3 separate regions of the Homo sapiens genome follow, and all the other regions are linked to region 3. Evidence: promoter capture Hi-C in human tissues and cell types (Jung and others, 2019). All regions are on one chromosome and are shown on one strand. The core of a region is centred on a gene start or on the middle of the fragment in contact, and the rest is flanking DNA. Distances in the headings are between cores, read along the strand shown. Region 1 holds the start of BACE1 (beta-secretase 1). Region 2 holds the start of TMPRSS4 (transmembrane serine protease 4). Region 3 has its middle 13 kb from the start of DSCAML1.

What was found. The method cuts DNA at HindIII sites, captures the fragments that hold promoters and counts their contacts. A contact is called where the count stands out against the background at its distance.
Region 1: the fragment with the promoter of BACE1 here is called in contact with a fragment that was not itself captured in region 3 in 1 of the 25 tissues and cell types used here (dorsolateral prefrontal cortex).
Region 2: a contact is called between the fragment with the promoter of TMPRSS4 here and a fragment that was not itself captured in region 3, in 4 of the 25 tissues and cell types used here (dorsolateral prefrontal cortex, lymphoblastoid cells, spleen and 1 more).

Annotation. Positions count from the first base shown.
Region 1 is chr11:117,314,917-117,317,671 of GRCh38, forward strand. It overlaps BACE1 (beta-secretase 1), which reads right to left and starts at 1,340. Exons shown (of 9, transcript NM_012104.6): 1 at 619-1,340. The coding sequence starts at 879. RefSeq lists an enhancer at 1-250 and silencers at 779-888, 979-1,068. The HindIII fragment of the contact is 10,772 bases long and covers 1-2,755 here.
Region 2 is chr11:118,075,526-118,078,513 of GRCh38, forward strand. TMPRSS4 (transmembrane serine protease 4) reads left to right here and starts at 1,553. Exons shown (of 13, transcript NM_019894.4): 1 at 1,553-1,780. The coding sequence starts at 1,778. The region is part of intron 1 of SMIM35 (small integral membrane protein 35); the gene reads right to left. RefSeq lists an enhancer at 1,408-2,003. The HindIII fragment of the contact is 5,819 bases long and covers 1-2,988 here.
Region 3 is chr11:117,809,048-117,812,053 of GRCh38, forward strand. It overlaps a transcript of DSCAML1 not described here. Among named protein-coding and RNA genes, the nearest start is that of DSCAML1, 13 kb to the left of the region's middle. RefSeq lists enhancers at 359-428, 479-528. The HindIII fragment of the contact is 6,582 bases long and covers 1-3,006 here.

The sequences.
Region 1 (2,755 bases), core at 90-2,589, 490 kb before region 3:
CCGGAGTGTAGACCGCGAGAGGGAGAAGGGGAGGAGGAGGGGACGGCAGGAGCCTGTCCAGGGCTTCCGGGCGGAGTGCAGTCAGGGGGGCCTCGACAACCTCACTTTGCCGTACCAGTGGCAGCCCAGATGGTGGGAGCAAGGTGCTTATTCAACTGCTGCCAGGATTCCTTGGTCCTGGAGGTACTGGGAACAATGGTGGGAATCAGAGGAGGGGACAAGGTTGGGTGGCCAACCTCTAGAGTGGTGGGATTTGGGAGACTCGGACTGGGCCACTGTCAGAGGGGGCTGACACCTGTTATAGTGCCCCTGTGGCGGACCCTTCCTCCAGGTCAGGGTCCCCAGCTGATGTGTCTGTCTTGCCTCAAATCCTTCCAGACGGCGTATGTGTCAGATGAGGAGCAAGGGGAACTAGGCAGCCAGGGGAGACGAGGAGGGAATGGGGAGCTTGGGAACACTTCTGCCAACAACCACGTGACCCCCGGGGAATGGCTGGGGAGGGGTCCCTCCTGCTGTCCCCACCAGCCCATTTGAGCAGGGGCTAGCTTGAGGCATCCCCATCCTGTCTCCCCTCTGCTCATGCAGGCGGAGGGCTAAGGGCTGGCCTGACCACCTTACCGTCTGCGGGGGGCTGCCCACGGTCATCTCCACGTAGTAGCCCTGCCCCGACTTGCCCCTCAGGTTGTCCACCATCTCCACAAAGCTGCCCCTCCGGCCGGGCTCCTCGGGCTCTTCGTCGGTCTCCCGGGGCAGCCGCAGCCCCAGGGGGGCGCCCCCCAGGCCGCTGCGCAGGGGCAGCCGGATGCCGTGCTGGGTGCCGTGGGCAGGCAGCACTCCCGCGCCCATCCACAGCAGGAGCCAGGGCAGGGCTTGGGCCATGGTGGGCCCCGGCCTTCGGGCCCTCTGGGCTCGCACTGGCCCACGTCCGTCCCTGGCGCCTGCCCCCAAGTCTGGGTGGTGCTGGTGGCTTCTCAGGAGAGGGAGCTTGGGGGCATCAGGACGCCAGGGCCTGCAGGGCCCTGGGCCAGCCCCCGGGTCCGGGCTGTGGAGAGCGGTCAGGGGAGATCCGCAGAGCACGGGAGCAGGGGAGAGGCTGGGATCCGGAGCCCGCTACATCGGCACGGCGGCGGCCAGCCTGGGCAGCGGGCGCGGGCTCCCGGCGGGGCTGGGAGGGGCGGGCATGGCGGGCCGGTGGCGGCTTCCCTGGTCCCCCCGGCGGGCGGCGGCGCGGGCAGGGGCAAGGGCTCCGGGCTCCTGCGGCTGCGTTGGCTGCTCAGGCCACCATAATCCAGCTCGCGGCTCGCAGCTCCCGGGCGGGCTGGGGAGGCGGAAAGACTTGTGGCGGCGGCTGTCAAAGCCAAAAGGTTTTCGCTTTTCCCTGGGATCGCTGGGAAGTGTAGTCTTCCCATGGCAGGCAATCCGGCTTCCGGGGCTGGAGAGGGGTCTGGGATGCCCTCTGCCGAGGTGGAGTCCGCCCTGCAAGGCCCTGGCGGGAAGGGCCAGACGGATGGAGAGGGGCACACCTCCCGTCTGTCAGTCTTTCTTTCAGCATGGAAGGAGCACCCACTGTATGCCAGGCACACTGCCAGGCGCTGGAGATACAGAGAGAAATAAACGGTGATTCTACACGGGACAGTTAAGTGATTCCTGCCGCGGTGGGGTTTCACACTATACGATGTGGCATTAAGGAGTAGGGATTTGGAGGGACATCTAGGGGATCTGGGAAGACTCAGTGGGAGAAGGTGGTATTTAATTTGAGCGTTTAAAAATGGGTAGGATTTTCACGAGCAGAGATTGAGGGAGCAGGATGAAAGGGGAGGAAGAGTTTTTCCAGGCTGCAAACCAGCGGAGCAGGGTCCAAAAGGGGAAAGTGCAGTTGTCTTATTTTCTCCTGCGCCTGCGATCTGCGGGCAGGTAAGAGCCAGTGGGTCTTCTCCCATCTGAACCTGTTTGTGCCCTTGAGGCTCTACTTGAATCCTTATGGCTCCTCTGATTTTCTGCACCATCAGCCAGACTGAGGAGAAATGGCTGTTGATAGCTTTAAAGTGTTAACACTCCGAAAAGTATCTCTATATTAACTGGTAAGAGCTTAAAGCCTTGAACCAAAAGCGTTAGAGTTCTAATAGCTTAAAGGAGAAAAGCCGGTATGGTTTTAACAATATATTGTTTATCAAATGTGGAAAGCCATTGATAAAATTCAGCAGTTACTCTGATTTAATTTTTTTAAAAAATGAAAGGGAATCTTCATTTTTCTTTTGAAAAGGAGACTTGCTCTGTCACCCAGGCTGGAGTGCAGTGGCATGGTCTCAAGTCTGCAACCTCCGCCTCCCGGGTTCAAGCAGTTCTCATGCCTCAGCCTCTGAGTAGCTGGGATTACAAGCATGCGCCACCATACCCAGCTAATTTTTGTATTTTTAGTAGAGATGGGATTTCACCATGTTGGCCAGGCTGGTCTCGAACTCCTGGCCTCAAGTGATCCGCCCACGTCGGCCTCCCAAAATGCTGGGATTATAGGCATGGACCACTGTACCCAGCCAGGAAACTTTTTAAACAAGATAACGACAACAACAACAAATGTAGTAATAACAGGCTACGTTACTCCCATTAAAGGCAGGCTTTGGAAAGGAAAGATCATTATCTCTACTCTTTTTTTTTTTTTTTTTGAGAAGGCGTCTCGCTTTGTCGCCCAGGCTGGAGTGCAGTGGTGGGATCTCAGCTCACTGCAAGCTCTGCCTCCCGGGTTCAGGCTATTCTC
Region 2 (2,988 bases), core at 303-2,802, 270 kb after region 3:
TGTGAACCAGTAAGAGAACCAGGTTCCAGCCCCAACTCTGCCCGAAACTACTTCATGTCCATAGGCTATAGTTTCCTCAGCTGACAAATGGGAACAAAATATTGGGGTTGTTGTTGGAGAATTAAAGGGCTGATACACAGAAGCACGTTATCAACAGAAGGACAAATACACACGTCTAACCCAGGCTGGTCTCCTGGGAGGGTCAGGTCTGAGAAATGGAAGGAGATCTGGATTCATATGGAACCAGACACTAATTCATTATGTGACTTTGGGTCATTGACTTTGCCTCTCTGGAATTTAGTTTTGTCGCCCACAGAATGGGGGAACAATGTGGACAATTATCCAAGTCTCTCCCAGCAAAATATCTGTGGCTGTAAGGTTTCACCTTGCACATCCCCTGGCCAGGGGGCAGCTCCAGCTATCAGGATGTGGCAGAACGTGAATCAGAAATGATCCTGTGGGGCTGGGTGCGGTGGCTCACGCCATAATCACAGCACTTTGGGAGGCTGAGGCAGGTGGATCAGTTGAAGCCAGGTGTTTGAGACCAGCCTGGCCAACATGGCAAAACCCCATCTCTACTAAAAATACAAATTAGCCAGGCATGGTGGCGCACAACACCTGTAATCCCAGCAGCTACTTGGGAGGCTGAGGCAGGAGAATCACTTGAACCTGGGAGGTGGAGGTTGCAGTGAGCCAAGATCGCGCCACTGCACTCCAGCCTGGGCAACAGAGACTCTGTCTCAAAATAAAATAAAATACAAAAACACAAAACTTAGCTGGGTGTGGTGGCAGGTGGCTGTAGTCCCAGCTACTCGAGAGGCTGGAGCACGAGAATTGCTTGAACCTAGGAGGCGGAGGTTGCAGTGAGCTGAGATTGCGCCCCTGCACTCCAGCCTGGGGGACAGAGAGAGACCCTGTCTTAAAAAAAGAAAAGAAAAAAAGAAAGAAAGAAAGAAGGAAATGACTCCGTGGACGAGGAGACGTGGGCTCTAGCCAGAGCACCAATAGTGATTTTCAGAATATTGAACGGCTGCTGAGGCAGGGGCAGGAAGCACTAGTACATTGGCTCTGTGCAGGACAGCTTCACTTCTGGGATCCAGGGAAAGGGGGTACATCTTACCTCCCTAAGAGAAGAAACTCCCTCCTTCTCTGTGGACTTTCCAATCCTATTGCTCCACACCTGGCAATGATCTCTTTGTACTGAGCTGCAAACCCTGTCGCCCAACCCCCAGACCACTCCAACTTCCCACAACCCCAAACCAAAGCACCCACACAGTGAGAAGTCATGCACCTAGAAGGTAGGGGGAGGGGGGGCGGAAACTTCTGGCATCACCCTCAGCCAACACCCAGTTGGGTGGAAGTCATTCAGGCGGGAAGGCTTTTGTTACGCCTTAGGTGTGTCACCTGTTCTGAGGCCGAAGGTCCCATGAATGACTTCAGGTGTTGTTCCAGCCCCTAAGATAGGTGTCAGGTTACAAGACACATAATCATTCCAGTTTGGCAACTTCACTTGTAGGGCTGTTTTAATCAAGCTGCCCAAAGTCCCCCAATCACTCCTGGAATACACAGAGAGAGGCAGCAGCTTGCTCAGCGGACAAGGATGCTGGGCGTGAGGGACCAAGGCCTGCCCTGCACTCGGGCCTCCTCCAGCCAGTGCTGACCAGGGACTTCTGACCTGCTGGCCAGCCAGGACCTGTGTGGGGAGGCCCTCCTGCTGCCTTGGGGTGACAATCTCAGCTCCAGGCTACAGGGAGACCGGGAGGATCACAGAGCCAGCATGGTGAGTGTGGGGCCCTCTGCTCCCAAGACACAGGAAGGGTGGGTCTCCCCATGTAAGGCCCTTCAAGCAGCCTGAGCATCCATCAGCTGAGAATTCTGTGACACCTTCTAGGTTAAAAAAAGAGGCCACACCCAAATCCCCTCACACCCCAGCCCGGTACACGTCTCATACCCACCTGCCTTCCTCTCTTCCTCCATTGCCATGGTCCTTGGACCAGCTCACCTAAGAAGCTGAGCACAGAGCCAGGGCTGTCCTTCCCGACTATTCTTTCCTGAATCCTGCATGTTCTTTTGCCCAATGTCTCCAGGTCTGTTGGTTAGAGGTTGGCACTATTTTTCCAAGGCAGGGGGCTGTTCTGATGCCACGGTTGCCCTCTGCCACTCCCTGGGGAAACTGATTCCTTTTCTTTTTAAAGAAAAGTGTAGACTGGGTGCAGTGGCTCACGCCTGTAGTCCCAGCACTTTGCGAGGCTGAGGCAGACAGATCTCTCGAGGTCAGGAGTTTGAGACCAGCCTGGCCAGTATGGTGAAACCCCATCCGTACTAAAAATACAAAAAATTAGCCAGGCGTGGTGGCAGGTGCCTGTAATCCCAGCTACTTGGGAGGCTGAGGCAGGAGAATCGCTTGAACTTGGGAGGCGGAGGTTGTGGTGAGCCAAGATTGTGCCATTGCACTCCAACCTGGGCAACAAGAGTGAAACTCCGTCTCAAAAAAAAAAAAAAAAAAAAAAAAAAAAAAAGAAAGAAGGAAAAGAAAACAGTGCAGAGATGCCTCCAAACAATCTAGGGTGTTTGTGGTCATCTTTTACTTGGTCTCTTTTCATGCCCTCACCCTCTCTCCTCCTCCTCTGAATACCTGGAGCGTCTTCGCTGTCTTGGGGCAAAGAGAATCAACCCTATCTTTCAAGGAGGACAGCTGAGGGCCAGGGAGGGGAAGAGATAATAACTGGGTCTGAGGAGGAACCCAGGGGTCTTCCTTCTCCAGTCCTTGGCCAAGAGGCAGCAATTGCCCAGCCACCAAAGTGAAAGGGAAGGGAAGAGAGGAAAGGAGAAGCCACTGTCCAAGGGGGAAGGGTGTGACCTGCAGGGGCCCCTCGAGTGATTGTCTCCTATTCCCAACCTGAGCACTTCCCACGACACTCTTCTGAAAATTCTGGCAAGAACAATTCTTAGTGCGGTTGTAGCTGATGATCAGAAAGGGGAAGGGGC
Region 3 (3,006 bases), core at 194-2,693:
CCCCGCCCCTGCTTCATATCATTTCCACTGCGAAGCTTGAGAGGAGGAAAAATCCATCCAGAGAGAATGAATCTTCCAGATCCGTTGGGAATGCCTCAGATTTAGGAGAGGCGACCTCAGGAGTTTGCCCTGAGACCCCAGGCTCAGGAGAAGTCTTGCCTCATTTGGCGAAGGGGCTCAGTGCAGACCTCCAGGGTGGGGCAGGTCCTGGGAGGCCAGCTGCCGCGTCTGCACTCCTGGAAAGTGCAGTGTGGGAAGGGTGGGAGCTGTGGGAAGGGAGGGGAGCCCTCCTCCCCGCTGTGCCTGACTCCTTGGGCGTGGCTCTGATGGCTGGAGAGGACAACCCGCCTCCCTGGCCCACTACTGGATGTGTCTCTGCGGTCCTCCGCGGAAGGAAGCTCCAGGCCTCCGCACTGGGAACCTGGTGTCTGCCTCCCCCTAGTGCCACAGGACAGGATGGTGGCGCCGCAGGCTGCTGTGCAGTACAACATAGACGGCGGCCACTCAAATTCTCCACTACACAGGTCCTGCCCTTCACCCCAGTCATGTCTCGCAGTGAAGCCGGAGGCTGGGCTCACTCCCTGCCCCAGCCTGTGTCCTTGCCAGCCTCTAAGAACTACTGGAGGGGACCAATGGTGTCCTCCAAAACAGACCTCTGATTCTCAGCTGAGGAGGCTGAATCGCCGCGCAGCGCTCCAGATGCTAGGTCCACCCACGCAACCCTCCTGGGTTGCTCTGCTCCTCCCCAGTTCCAGCTCAACTAGCAACGCACAACACACACAAACTCACACAGTCACATACACACTCACACTCACTTACACATTCACATACTCTTACACACACACACCCACACACTCACACACACATTCACACATTCACACACACGCATATTCACATACACACATTCACACACTCACACATTCACACACACTCATACACACATTCACATACACACATTCCCACACTCACACATATTCAAATATTTTCACACACATTCACACTCACACACATTCACACACTCACTTACACATTCGCACACACATACACACATTCACATACATACATATTCACATTTCAATCTTGGCGCCACACTTCAATCTCTCCCTTCTCTTAATTTCAATTCCTTTCATTTTCTGATAGAGACAAAGGAGACACGTGGACCCAAAACTCCGTGGACCCAAACTCCGTGGACCCAAAACTCCGTGGACTCAAAACTCCAGCGCCCTCTGGGGGAGGGGCAAGTACCCCTCAACCCCTTCTCCTTCACCCTTAGTGGCAAGTCCCGCTTTTCTAGGGGGCAAGAACCCCCAATCCCTTATTTCCGCACCCCGACCTCTTATCTCTGTGTCCCAATCCCTTATTTCCGCACCCCGACCTCTTATCTCTGTGCCCCAATCCCTTATTTCCGTGCCCCAACCCTTTCTCTGCTTTTCTGGAGGGCAAGAAACCCCCACCCCCTTCTCCGTATCTCTACTCTTTTCTCTAGGCTTGCCTCCTTCACTATGGGCAAGCTTCCACCTTCCATTCCTCCTTCTTCTCCCTTAGCCTGTATCCTTAAGAACTTAAAACCTCTTCAACTCTCACCTGACCTAAAATCAAAGTGTCTTATTTTCTTCTGCAATGCCGCTTGACCCCAATACAAACTCGACAGTAGTTCCAAATAGCCGGAAAACAGCTCTTTCAATTTTTCCATCCTACAAGAGCTAAATAATTCTTGTCGTAAAATGGGCAAATGATCTGAGGTGCCTGACGTCCACGCATTCTTTTACACATCAGTCCCTTCCTAGTCTCTGTGCCCAGTGCAACTCGTCCCAAATCTTCCTTCTTTCCCTCCCGCCTGTCCCCTCAGTCCCAACCCCAAGCGTCGCTGAGTCTTTCTAATCTTCCTTTTCTACAGACCCATCTGACCTCTCCCCTCCTCGCCAGACCAAGCTAGGTCCCATTTCTTCCTCAGCCTCCGCTCCTCCACCCTGTAATCTTTTTATCGCCTCTCCTCCTCACACCCGGTCTGACTTACAGTTTCGTTCTGTGACTAGCCCTCCCCCACCTGCCCAGCAATTTACTCTTAAAAAGGTGGCTGGAGCTAAAGGCATAGTCAAGGTTAATGCTCCTTTTTCTTTATCCCAAATCAGATAGCGTTTAGGCTCTTTTTCATCAAATATAAAACCCCAGCCGAGTTCATGGCTCGTTCGGCAGCAACCCTGAGAAGCTTTACAGCCCTAGACCCTAAAAGGTCAAAAGGCCATCTTATTCTCAATATACATTTTATTACCCAATCTGCTCCCGACATTAAATAAAACTCCAAAAATTAGAATCTGGCCCTCAAACCCCACAACAGGACTTAATTAACCTCACCTTCAAGGTGTACAATAATAAAAAAAGTTGCAATTCCTTACCTCCACTGTGAGACAAACCCCAGCTACATCTCCAGCACACAAGAACTTCCAAACGCCTGAACTGCAGCGGCCAGGCGTTCCTCCAGAACCTCCTCCCCCAGGAGCTTACTACAAGTGCTAGAAATCTGGACACCAGGCCAAGGAATGCCTGCAGCCCAGGATTCCTCCTAAGCCGTGTCCCATCTGCGCGGGACCCCACTGGAAATCGGACTGTTCAACTCACCTGGCAGCCACTCCCAGAGCCCCTGGAACTCTGGCCCAAGGCTCCCTGACTGACTCCTTCTCGGCTTAGCAGCTGAAGACTGAGGCTGCCTGATTGCCTTGGAAGCCCCGTAGACCATCGCGGATGCCGAGCTTTAAGTAACTCTCACAGTGGAGTGTAAGTCCATCCCCTTCTTAATCAATACGGAGGCTACCCACTCCACATTACCTTCTTTTCAAAGGCCTGTTTCCCTTGCCTCCATAACTGCTGTGCGTATTGACAGCCAGACTTCTAAACCTCTTAAAACTCCCCAACTCTGGTGCCAACTTAGACAACACTCTTTTATGCACTCTTTTTTAGTTATCTCCACCTGCCCAGTTCCCTTATTAGGCCGAGATATTTTAACCA